Regions from separate parts of the Homo sapiens genome. Here region 1 is linked to region 2. The links are contacts of gene promoters, found by promoter capture Hi-C in blood cells and fetal thymus (Javierre and others, 2016). All regions are on one chromosome and are shown on one strand. The core of a region is centred on a gene start or on the middle of the fragment in contact, and the rest is flanking DNA. Distances in the headings are between cores, read along the strand shown. Region 1 holds the start of SAMD9 (sterile alpha motif domain containing 9). Region 2 holds the start of AKAP9 (A-kinase anchoring protein 9).

The links. Contacts are between HindIII fragments. The CHiCAGO score rates a contact against its expected background, and 5 or more counts as called.
Region 1: a fragment that was not itself captured here is called in contact with the fragment with the promoter of AKAP9 in region 2 in 1 of 17 cell types (total CD4 T cells); the score reaches 5.3 in total CD4 T cells.

The regions. Positions count from the first base shown.
Region 1 is chr7:93,115,610-93,121,962 of GRCh38, forward strand. SAMD9 (sterile alpha motif domain containing 9) reads right to left here and starts at 2,370. Exons shown (of 3, transcript NM_017654.4): 1 at 2,254-2,370. The HindIII fragment of the contact is 1,297 bases long and covers 867-2,163 here.
Region 2 is chr7:91,939,592-91,946,384 of GRCh38, forward strand. AKAP9 (A-kinase anchoring protein 9) reads left to right here and starts at 1,271. Exons shown (of 50, transcript NM_005751.5): 1 at 1,271-1,556. The coding sequence starts at 1,509. LOC124901698 (a long non-coding RNA gene) reads right to left here and starts at 1,260. Exons shown (of 2, transcript XR_007060431.1): 1 at 1,073-1,260; 2 at 259-973. RefSeq lists enhancers at 812-1,373, 1,412-1,561 and a silencer at 1,102-1,211. The HindIII fragment of the contact is 23,233 bases long and covers 1-4,054 here.

The DNA of each region.
Region 1 (6,353 bases), core at 265-2,764, 1.2 Mb after region 2:
TAAAATTTCATAAAGGCTTACCCTTAAGTTTGTTCATTGTATACAAGTTATACTGTATTTAAAAAGCCAATAATGCCTCCAAAATACATTAGAAAATAAAACGGATGAATAAAATAAAAGAGATACTTGCATAAAAAAGATGATGGTGTGTTATGAATCAAGGATAATTGTGAATTCAATGGTATGTGAGGTCCTAAAGTTTTACTAGGTGTTTATTATTGCAGTCTCAGATTATGAACTTTTGACTTCTGCATCCCACTCAGTGTTGATTCAATACTGGTTTTAGAGTTGTCTAAAAACTGACTACACCCTCGTCTAGTAACCATTCTATCTGAGTCACTTTCTTGTATCCATTTACTGAGTCACGTCTACTCCACCCTATGAAAGTATGCTCACTTTTGTTGCACCCACACTATTTAACACATAAAGCAGGGGTCCCCGATTATTGTGCTGCTAGCGTGCGCTGGCTCCTGAGGCCTCATACCTATGGCTCTCATCCCCCATCTCGCCGCTTCCCACCAGTACCCTTTTCCTAGGGTCTCCCTGACTTCCTTCATCAACTTGGACCTTTCACAGTTTTACAGACACAGTCCTTAGTCTCTGGTGATATGTCATAAACTAGATTATGAGACTGGTGAATTAGATGGATTATTTGATTCATGCAAGAACTACATACCATTATATGTGAAAACGTAAAGTCAGGTTCTCATATAAGAGTGTGGGGGATGGAGAACTGGGCCTGAACATTTGGTTGGGAAAGTAAGCAAATAATAAAGAAGTGACTTTTGACTGTTTTCTCTACTAGAGACACTATGAATATTTCAAATGTCATTGAACAGGTTACACTTTCACACTTCTTCCCCTAAAGCTTTTGTCAGATTATTGATAGCTGTGCCTTTCAATACATTATTTTAAAAAAATTGTTGATGATGTCACTCTTGGAGAAAATATATGCCAGCATTCATAGGTATTTATGCCACTGTTCATAGATATTTTACATATTAATGATTTCTTTATACCCTCTCGTTCCAAAATGTTTTTTAGGTAATTTAGAAAGTAATATAGGATCACACATATATTAAAACCCTTAGGTAAAGAAATCATGGGGAAGGCTAAATAAGGGTAGGGGGAGAAAAGGTGAAATGAGGGAGTAAAATTAGTACCTAAAATTACTGGTTTTGATTCCGTATACTTTAAAAACTGACCTGAAAATTTGGTTCTGAGCATCTTAGTAGGAAACACTATTTGTTACTGATTGAACCCACATACATTTTTTAACTCTGGTTGGTGTTAAACTGTAGGGTTTGTTAACTTTTCTAGAAGGGAGTTGAAGGTCAGACCTTTATTCAGAAATGTGATCCTCCAACCGTCTTGCATTATCTTACTGTTTGCTTTGGGGAGAAATTAGACATAAACCTAGTATTTTTGCCAGGAACATAAAGCTGCCTTAATTCCAAAGACTTCCCATAGTAGTCTATCTGTCTGTCTGTCTTCCTATGTATGTCATCCGACAACAATATCTGAGAAGCTCTCAGAGAGTTTTGTTTTCTGGAAGCTACCTATTTCTTAGAGTAGATGGTGGAAGTTGTATTTGATTAAAGTAAAGTACTTTTAAGTTTTCATTGCCTGTTCTTTATCTATCTTTCCGTTTGTTGTTGTTGTTGTTGTTGTTGTTGTTGTTGTTTTTGAGACAGTGTCTCACTCTGTTGCCTATGCTGGAGTGCAGTGGTACAATTACAGCTCACTGTAACCTTAAATTCCTGGGCTCAAGCAATCCTTCTGCCTCAGCCTCCAAAGTAGCTAGACTGCAGCTGCGTGCCACCACATCCAGCTATTTTTTTTTTTGGTAGGAATCTTGCTAGGTAGGGTCTTGCTATGTTGCCCAAGCTAATTTTGAATTCCTGGCCTCAAACAATTCTCCTGTCCTTGCCTTCCAAAGTGCTCAAATTACAGGCTACCACACCTGGCCTGTTTGTTCTTTCTGAAGATGCTGTATGCCTTGGGAGAGTTCATCAATAAAAGTGTCTGTAGTTTTCAACTGCATCTTTAATGAAATGTTATGACTAATTTTTCAACTAATATAAAGCAGACTGCTGTCAGAGCAACAAATAGTCTAGAATTTCTAGGCTTAGAATACTATTTTTTGTTTTGAGGTATATTTGAAGCTTCTAATTGAAAAGTATATTTCTTTCTATTCAATAAAATGCTGCTATAGATAGTAAGAACAATATTAATAATAGATATTGTACTTACCCAGTAGTCTTGCAAATTTCTTTTACATATATGTGGGGAAAACCATCTCTTTTAGTGCTGAAAATATCTGATGTGTTTGTTTTCTTCCTCCTACGATGCTAGAGAAAAGTATTTTCCTCATTCTGGTTTTAACGGAAGTCTATGTATTCTCTGCTTCTGTCTCACAGCAAGCTCTAATTGGCTCAGAAACAGCAGGGCGTGTTTAACAACTGGGAGGTTGGGGAAGGAAGAATATAGGTTTGGTTTCAGTTTCATTTCTCAGATCTGAAATTACAGCACCGCCTTTTCTATCTGAAATGCTTTTTAATAAGCTATGGCTATATACCACCTTCTGGTCTGCTTGGTTAAAATCTGAAGGCTTAACAATTTTTCCTCACTTGAGAGTTTTGAGGGCTGCAGAAAGCCCCATTGTCTTGTTATAGACAAACTGTGGGATATTCTGGCTTAATTGATCCCTTGGGAATATGAGTTTACATTGCAGTCCCAGCCTTGTAGAGCACCAGGTTGGAGATACTCTAGGTCAATATTTCACTGGCCTTTAAGGGTGGAGTTACTGTCCATTCCTGTTTTCCTAAAGTGTAAAGAATGTCTTTCAGGGATAGGACTTCTTTGAGCACCCCAATAAGTGCTAAATTCATTTATTGCAGAGCAGACCAGGGCTGCAGCAGACCTGATGGTCACATTGTAGAGATTTATCTTTTCTAAGGTCAGTGTCAGGGCCAGAGAGAAAACTGCCTGAGTGAGAGCAACAAAAATAGCTGATATTTTAAAAACTAACAGCAAGTACTGATATTTATTGTGTGTGCTCAATTAGCTTTTGGTTTCCACATCCCACAACTGATTCACACTGGTTTTAGATGAAAACATTTAAAAACATTTATTTTAAAATATTTATTGGGCGCTTACCATGTACCAGGCATTGTTCTAAATGTTTCATATTAACTTAATTACTCTTCACAACAATCTCCTGAGGTAGAGATTATTTTTATCTCAATTTTAAAGGTGAAGAAACTGAGGCATAGAGATTAAATAATATGGCTAAAGTTTGCATAACTAATACATGGCAGAGATTCGAATCCAGGTTTCAGGCCAGTGCTCTTAAATCCTGAGGTTTAGGAAGAAAGAAAGTGGCTATGAAGGACAGCCTAGATATGACCATTACACTTATCACCCTCAGGAGCCCTCCTCGTAAGGGGACCCTGGGCCTGAACTCCAAAACCTGGGTTTCACTTTGCATGGGGACCAGTGTGATGGTTAATTTTATGGGTCAACTTGACCGGGCCACAGAGTGCCTAGATATTTGGTCAAACATTATTCTGGTGGTTCTGTGAGGGTGAGGAGGCAGGACTAGCTTGCAGCTCCTGCTGGGACAGACAGGACAGCATGTGGAGACTCACATCATGAACTTTTGCTTCAAGAATTACTGCAGCAACATACCAGGAAAGCCAAGAGAATTCACAGACCCTTTGAAGGAACTGTATCGCCACTGCAGTTTCTCTGAGATGCCAAAAAGAAAAGTCATGAGTCTGCTTGCTTTCTCAGCAGGGAGGCTGATAGCCAGGGGCAAGTTCTCAGCCCTGGTCACCGACTGCCTGGAAATAGATTCGATGTTGTTGGCAGGGGCACAGTGGGAGTGAGACTGGCCTTTAGGAGTGTGGGTTGTGTGGAAATGGGGTGAGGCCTGTGACTGCTGGCTTTTCCCCACTTCCCTGGTGTCCTATGTCACTCAGTGGAGACAGCCATAATCCCCCTGGGAACATAACTCCATTGGCCTGGGAACCACACCCCCGCCCCCTACAGCAAGTGCAGCAGACCCCACCCAATAAGAGTCTGAGCTCAGCCACACCTATGCCTGCCCCAACCTGTTGGTCTTTCTTTACCTGCCCTGGTTGCAAGACAAAGGACATATTCTGCCCACTGCCTCAGAAACATGAATATATAACTAGATGACCCTAGGTCAAGTTTGCTTCCTCCCTATAGTACCACAGCTAATGCACTCTTGAAAATGCCACCTCCTGGCTGGAGGCCAACCAACACAAAACCAGAGCATTTAACGAAGATATAACCAAGGACCCTTACAGAGTCCACTTCACTCCCCTGCTACCTCCACTGGAGCAGGTGCTGGTATCCACAGCTGAAAGACCTGAAGATGTATTACATCACAGGACTCTTTGCCGACACTTCCCAGTACCAGTCTGGAGTCCAGTAGCTCTGCTAGATGACTAGGCCCAGAAGAGAAAAAACAATCACTGCAGTTTGGCTCCCAGGAAGCCCCATCCCTAGAGGAAGTGGGAGAACACTACATCAAGGGAGCACCCTGTGGGACAAAAGAATCTGAATAGTAGCCCTTGAGTCCCAGATCTTCCCCCTGACACAGTCACCCAAATGAGAAGGAACCAGAAAAACAATTCTGGTAATATGAAAAAACAAGGTTCTTGAACACCCCCAAAATACCACACCAGCTCACCAACAATATATCCAAACCAAGACAAAATCTCTGAATTGCCAGGAAAATAATTCAGAAGGTTTATTATTAAGCTAATCAAAAAGGCACTAGAGAAAGGTGAATTCTAACTTAAAGAAATAACAAACATGATACAGGATATGAAAGGAAAATTCCTCAGTGAAATAGATAGCATACATAAAAAACAATCACAATTTCTGGAAATGAAGAACACAATTAGAGAAATAACAAATGCACTGGAGGTGGTTGGCAAGATGGCCAAATAGGAACAGCTTCGATCTGCAGCTCCCAGTGAGATCAATGCAAAAGGCGGGTGATTTCTGCATTTCCAACTGAGGTACCGGGCTCATCTCATTGGGACTGGTTAGACAGTGGGTGCAGCCCATGGAGGGTGAGCTGAAGCTGGGTGGGGCATCTCCTCACCCAGGAAACACAAGAGGTTGGGGAACTCCCTCCTGTAGTCAAGGGAAGCTGTGAGGGACTGTGCCATGAGGAACGGTGCATTCTGGCCCACCCACATATTACACTTTTCCCATGGTCTTCACAAGCTGCAGACTGGGAGATTCCCTTGGAGGCCTACACCACAAGGGCCCAGGGTTTCAAGCACAAAACTGGGTGGCCATTTGGGTAGACACTGAGTTAGCTGCAGGAGTTTTTTTTTTTAATACCCTAGTGGTGCCTAGAACACCAGCAAGACAGAACTGTTCACTCCCCTGAAAAGGGGGCTGAAGCCAGGGAGCCAAGTGGTCTAGCTCAGCGGATCCCACCCCCACGTGCCAGGTCTGTCCTGCAGACCCTGGCCGAGCGATGGATCTAAGGGGTACTCAGACACAGGTATGCGTGTAAGAGCAGCTAGGGATCTGCCTGGCTTTAGTGGCCGAAGTGCAGCAGCCCTGAGAAGCTGGAGCTGCTTGCTTTTATTCAGTGCAGGCACAATGTCGAAAACCTGGAGCAAACACAACCTGAAGGTTACTAACATTTATTGTTCCCCTTTCAGGAAATGTCATACACGTGGATGATCAAAGGTCAGTTCCTTGTCAATATAAGTAAAGGAACCTGTTTAAGATAAATTCCCCTATACTCACTTGTACCTACTCCTTGCCCTCTGCCTCAGGGATATAGAACAGCTGCCTTCAGCTATTCTCCCCTGGACCTTCTGACCTTTCAGAAGTTCTGCTCCTTTCCCTATTGTTTCTCCCACCACTCTGACTGATCTCCTACACCCATGGAACCCAGCAAGCCAAGATCCACTGGCTTGAAATTCTCGCTGCAAGCACAGCAATCTGAAATTGACCTGTGATGCTAGAGCTTGGTAGGGAGAGTGGTGTCTGCCATTACTGAGGCTTGAGTAGGCTGTTTTCCCCTCACAGTGTAAACAAAGCCACCAGGAAGTTCAAATTGGATGGAGCCCACCGCAGCTCGACAAAGCTGCTGTAGCCACACTGCCTCTCTAGATTTCTCCTTTCTGGGCAGGGCATCTCTGAAAGAAAGATAGCAGCCCCAGTCAGGGTCTTATAGATAAAACTCCCATCTCCCTGGGACAGAGCACCTGGGGGAAAGGGTGGCTGGGGCACAGCTTCAGCAGACTTAAGCGTTCCTGCCTGCCATCTCTGAAGAGAGGAGCAGATCTCCCAGA
Region 2 (6,793 bases), core at 21-2,520:
CTTAACACCACTTCTACGCTTGAACTCATTTTAGCCTATTTTTTGTTCACAACTGCTAGTTTTTCAGTCCAACCTAGCTCAAAGCAACGGAGAAACATGATAAATCTGAGTAATCAACCAGAGACATTAAAATGTGTAGTTCACTCCAGGAATGGATGTGAGCATTGGAGGGCAGGGAGACGAACACAAAGGACTGAGGGAGCACATGTCGGGGAAACAAGGAAAGATAGTAATGTTAAATTTATAAACACTGCTCAATTCAATCCAAAAAGCGTTTATTGAGTGCAGAGCTCTGTGCTGGTCATTTTAGTAAAGCCAAGATGAGCAAGACTTATGATGAGTCTCTGTCATCAAGGAGCTGGGAGTATGAGCTGAACTAAGACGCACACAAATTATTAAAATATGGTGCAGGGTACTTAAAGGAAGTCCAAGGAGAAATAAAGCTGACATTATTCAGGACGTTTTAATATGTCAGGGCAGTCACATATATTAACAACCCTTCCAAAAATTCCAGGTAGGCTCAGGGAGGATAGGTAACTTGTCATTAACGCTAGAAAGTTAGTGTAGTCTGGCATTGTCCCTAACCGAGGTTCTAAAGCTCAGGCTCCTTTCAGAACACTACTGTTAAAGGGAAGCCCCAAAGAGTCGGGGGAGGGGACTAAGTTTTGACTGGATGTGTCTCGGTTGCCGTGGAGGGAACAAGAGGTCAGAAAAGCCATTTGGAGGCAGCGTGTGCGATGGGACTATAAGGATGAACCGGAGATTGAGTGGGAACCAGTGGAGGGAAGAGGGAGGGACTTTTCAGGCTAAGGAAGTAATAAGAGCAATTAGCTGCTCTCATAATTCTTGAGTCAAGCAGTTAATGTAGGTAGAAAACCTGGCGTCCGCCCCCCCACCACCCCCCACCGGAACTTTTCCGTTGGAGCTTGTAGGTGTTCGCCAATTTCACCATTAGGTGTGTTAGTTTTGTAACCTGAAGGAAAAAAAAAACTCATGTTTTAATAGCAGTGGATTCCTCGGACGGAGGGTGGGGGTCAGGCCAGGAGCCTCTGGCACACTCCGTCTCTCCTACCCCTCAGCTCGGCCGCCACCTGTGAGCCGTTGATGTGCGGGAAGGGCGCTCTCTACGGCGGGATCCTCGCTGGTAGGAGGCAGGTCCCAGGCCTGGCAAGGGTTGACCCCGGAGGGCTGGGCCGGGGCGGCACCCCAGGAGCACCTGCCCACGAGGCGGCTGCGCGGACAGACGTTCCAGCCCCTCCCGCCTCGCCGTGTGTTTACGTGGAGACGAAGATGGCGGCGGCGGCGGCGGTGACGGCGCTTCCCGTGCGGCTGAGGACGATCCGCCAGTGAGCGCGGAGACTGCTTCCACTTCGGGCGGGGGAGCGCCGGACCGAATCGGCTCTCTAGGCCGTGGAGCTTGCCGTCCCACCTCCGTCCAAATCGACCTTTCCTTTCTATCCCCAACCACCCCTCAACCCCTGTTTTCCCCTGCCTTCCTTGCAGAGGCCATGGAGGACGAGGAGAGACAGAAGAAGCTGGAGGCCGGCAAAGCCAAGGTAGGAGAGCCCGAGGCAACCGGGCCTGCGGTGGGAGGCGGTGGCTAGCACGGGGTGGGAGGGGGCCTGGGAAGCGGAGTTCGCCGCAGCCCCAGTGCACTGCCCGAGAGGGAGGTGCTGCAGGGTCTTAGGGTCTGCATCTCTCCTCGCCCTCCTCCTTTCCCCTTTTTCCAGTTGGGGGACAAAGCCTTGTGCTAGCTGATAATACTTCCGCGAGGATTGAATATTGTGGCTCCTTTCTCGTGAATGTCCAAATAAAACTCCCCTTTTACTGTATTGCTGTAAACTAGTGTTTAGTTGCTTCTAAACCTCCGATCTTTCATTTTTTTAAGGAGTTTTCTGGGTGGTGCAGGCATTGTGCTTTCCAGGGTGGGGATTTAGGGCTTTTCTTTATTGGGTTGGGGATTTGTGCGCTGATCATCAGCTTGTCTTCCTTAGGTAGCACGCTGGCACTCTTGGGTGTGTGTGATTGGCCTGTGACAGCTGTCTCAGCAGTGGCTTGTGTGTGCCACAAGTGCCAGCTGTGAACTTGGCTTTAGGGGCGTTTTTAGAAGCGTGTCTTTGTATGTTTGTACTTGAAGGTCTTTGTCATGGCATGCGCTTTTGTGTCCTATGGAATGTTAATGCAGTCTGTGAATGGAACTTCTGAGGACCGAAAGGTTCCATATGCCAACACCTATAGAATTCCTGCTTTAAATAATTTAGTTGTTATATATCTCTCTGGCGAATCCTGGTTGTGTGTGTGTGTGTGTGTGTGTGTGTGTGAACGGTTATGGAAAAGCCTGTAAAGCAAACAATACAATACACAATTATACACAGGCATCGTTCATTGGGCTTCATGAGAAATTTAACATATACAGAATATAAGCTGCGTAGCATATTTCTTTTAAAAATTACATATTTGAGCATATATTTTGTCTGGGCTCAAAAGCCCCCTTCCTCCCTTCAATGAAGTCTTCTTTTATGGATTATATTATTTTTAGAGATAATTGTTAGCAGTCATACTTGGACAAAAATTGTATTACAGGTAACTGTTTTTCCTCTCTTCCTTTCTCTTCTCCTCACATAAACAAAGGAAACCAGGTTAGTGATTTATTATCAATGAAGGGCCATACCGCAGAGATGCAGTGATAGAAGCTCAACACAAGTTTGTTAAATGAATATATATATAAAAACTAGCTTCATATTTCTAAAATATAGTTGACTTTCCTATAAGCTCCCTCTATTTAAGATCAAGGTTTAAATGCTTGTATATAGCCAGGTAAATTTTTACTTTCGAATCTATAAATGGTGGGAAAGGGGAATCAGGGTATCTTTAGAAGTCCAAAGCCTACACTTGTGCAATCTGAGGGGCTGAGCAAGCTCTATGCATCTACGGAAGTAGTGGAGGTGAAGTGTGTGCCCCTCCAAAAGCATTGAAGATCTGATTAGATGTCTTACTTGTCTGTTACCTCACAATTTTTATTGCCTGCCCCCAGAAATGTCTTTCCTGAATATATGTGAAGCAGTCCTACAAAACATGGTTTACTTTGGACATACACATTTCATAATAGAGGATTTATTTAAATTGCTTGCAGTTGTAGTTGATGTGGCAAAATACAATTCTAGTTTCTTTGTGTGTTTCTTTATCTTTCAGAATTCTATGTATGGGGTAAAAACCTGTTTAAGGTGAATTTTTGTTGTAAAAGATTATCTTCTTTTAGAATTTAGCCCTTTTTCCAGTAAGATATAAATCTATGAGACTTGTAAGGCAAGGTGTGTTTGCTGCAACATTAGCTATACAATATAAAAATGCTGACATTGGGAGCCTGGGGCGAGAGGATTGCTTGACACCAGGAGTTCAAGACCAACCTGGGCAACATAGTGAGACTCTACAAAAAATTAAATAAAAAAAAAAAATAGCAGGGCATGGTGGTGTGCGCCTGTATGTAGTCCTAGCTACTCAGGAGTCTGAGGTGGGAGGATCACTTGAGCCCAGGAGTTCGAGGCTGCAGTGAGCTATCATCATGCTACTGCACTCCAGCCTGGGCAACAGAATGAGATCCTGTTTCAGAAAACAAACAAACAAAAAAAAACCCCTGGAAATAACTTTTAAAGACAACACGAAGGGAATCATTTTCTAAGTTATATAAATATGATGGAATATTTTAAAGCCATTAAGATTATGAAGACTGATAGGAATATGAAAAATAGTGTGAAAAGGGCATTATCAAAAATAGTATGTACATTATTTCATTTGTATAAACGTGTGCTTTCAGATTAGAACTGAAAAACTCTGGATTATAATTTTATTCAGCAAACGTATATTGAATCCCTATTTTATACCTAGAGGTGGTGACAGTGTCTGCTCTCAAGTTGCTCACTGTTTAGTGGGAGAGACAGACTCTGGGTGATAAGTACAAAGAGGGATGAGCTGCAGTAGGATTTGGGGGATATTCTTCCACGTTTTGTTAAAGTGTTTTAAATACTACTATGTCATTTTATAGAATTACTAAGAAAGCTTTACTATTGATATTAATGCACCATAATATAATGCCTTTCAAATAGTTATTCATACATATTTGCTTAATGAATGAACAGAATGATTAATGAGTCATTAATAAGTGTTACTTTCCTAGCACGGTTGTAATTTAATAACATTAATCTAGAATTCTCTTAATGTGAAATCCATATTGCTGGCATCAGAAACAACTTTAAATGATCATTTTCCAAAGTTTATCTGAGACTTCATTCTGCAAATGTCTCATTTGTTCACTGGACTTAAGTATTGTATTTGATAATCTAGTTTTGCAAACCACAACTTACAAATCTTTTTGGGGGTAATTTATTGATAAACAGTTCCATTGGAAAATTCCCTTTCTGTATCTAAACCTTATAAATGATCACTTTTTAAACAGTTTGTCATGTATGCAGTATAATATATAGTATACTGTATAAAATGTTTTATACTACCCCAAATCTGTAATAATGGGTTAATAAATTATGATATGTAAAATAATTCTACAAAGACTTTTTGAGTGTGGAAAATGCCCACAAATAATGCCAGGTTAAAAAGAAAAAAGTTACCAGGAAAAGGTATATGTACATATTTAAATATGAAGACACCTGAAAAAAAGCACCAAGATGTAAATCGTGGCTATCTCTGGGTGGTGGCTTATAGGCAATTTTAATTTTCTTTATACTTTTAGTATTTTCCAAATTCTTGATACAATGTATCTCTTTTATGACCAGAAAAGAATATTCAAATGCCATTTTTTTTTTTTTTGAGACAGCCTGTCTCCCAGGCTGGAGTGCAGTGGCAGGATCTTGGCTCACTGCAGCCTCCACCTCCCAGGTTCAAGCGATTCTCCTGCCTCAGCCTCCCAAGTAGCTGGGATTACAGGCATTTACCACCACGCCTGGCTAATTTTTGTATTTTTAGTAGAGATGGGGTTTCACCATGTTGGCCAGGCTGGTCTCGAACTCCTGCCGTTAAGTGATCTGCCTGCCTCGACCTCCCAAAGTGCTGGGATTACAGGCATGAGCCACTGCACTCAGCCTCAAATGCCATTTTTTAAAAAACATAAAGGCTTATCAAATACATTATATTAAACACATGTTATAGTGTATGACCATTATCCAGAACAGGAAAATGAGGCACAGAATAACTAGGTTTCCTATTTTAGCGTAGGCCTGGAATTGTAATTGCTATTTCAGTGCAGAGTGTATAATATAGTTGGGATTATATTGTTAGACATTTTATAGATTTCCTTTCTGTTTTTGTTGTGCTTATTCTTTCCTTGCTGTTAGTTCGTATTGCTATGGGCATGCTCTTACTCCTCATCTGCCTCTTTTCCTAATTTGCTGTTTTAGATTTGCTACGACTAAGGAACCCAGAACTGAGGTTGACAGAATACTATGTAAAAAGAAAAAACAACAACAACAAAGACCTTAGGCGGGGTGTGATGGCTCACTCCTGTAATCCCAACACTGGGAGGCTGAGGTGGGAGGATCGCTTGAGCCCAGAGGTTCTAGATCAGCCTGGGCAATGTAGTGAGACCCCATCTCTAAAAAGAAAAAAGTATAAAAAACAAAACAGGTGGGGCGCAGTGGCTCACACCTGTAATCCAAGCACTTTAGGAGGTTGAGGTGGGTGGATCATCTGAGGTCAGGAGTTTGAGACCAGCCTGGCCAACATGGCAAAACCCCGTCTCTACTAAAAAATACAAAAAAATTAGCCAGGCGTGGTGGCAGGTACTAATCCCAGCTACTGGGGAGGTGGAGGCAGGAGAATCACTTGAACCCAGGAGGTGGAGGTTGCAGTGAACCGAGGTTGTGCCACTGTACTCCAGCCTGGGTGACAGAGCAAGACTCTGTCTCAAAAAACAAAACAAAACAAAAACAGAGGCCAGTGTAGCCTGCCCAGTGGGCTTTAGGGCAGTTTAGTTTTTCTGCTGCTTGTTGGTTGTTTTGGTTTACTGTTGGGTCCTCAGCTATTTCCTCAGTATTGATGTTGCAAGAAGCATGACCCTGGGAGATGTGAGACATTACTGCATTATGTATTAAGTAAATATTTTCAGAGCTGGGCTAGCTCCCTCTGCAGTGTTTTGACGAGGATGGCACTACATAGGTTGTCCTTGTGTTGAACCAAACTATTTTAACTCCATTTTAAATGACTTCATTTTTTTCCAAGTATAATTATTCATGGCACGTAAAGGAAGTATTGTAATTTAAGTGAACAGAATTAAATAGAGGACAGTTGTATATTTAATATAAAATTATTACTCATGTAAATTTGCATTAGGTATACTTTTTAAAGTTATTCAGTATTTTATATAATGGGCATTATTTGCTGAATAATTATAAAAAACTACTGTCTATTATATTCAGTAATTTGTAATTACATGACTTTTGTTTAACAAACATTTTCAGTGTGAAGAGTAGTTCCAATTGTGTACAAAAAAAAGGATGGTGCTCCATGCAAGCTGTATATTGATTATTGATAGCAGGACTTTTCAGTTACTGTTTCCACTGTGATAGACAAAGCTGGTTATGGTGTAAAACTGTTCTTTGCATATTTCAGATACTTTGTTCCACAGCTAAGAAAGTGTTTTCCCTTCCTGTTTTAAGCATTCTAGTTTTTCATACTTAGATGTGGCAGAGCTTACTTAGCATTCCGAGTAGATGCAGCAGTTTGATAGCTTCATCAACATTTATTGCAGCAATAGTGCAGTGCCTGTGACTTAAAACTAATTCAT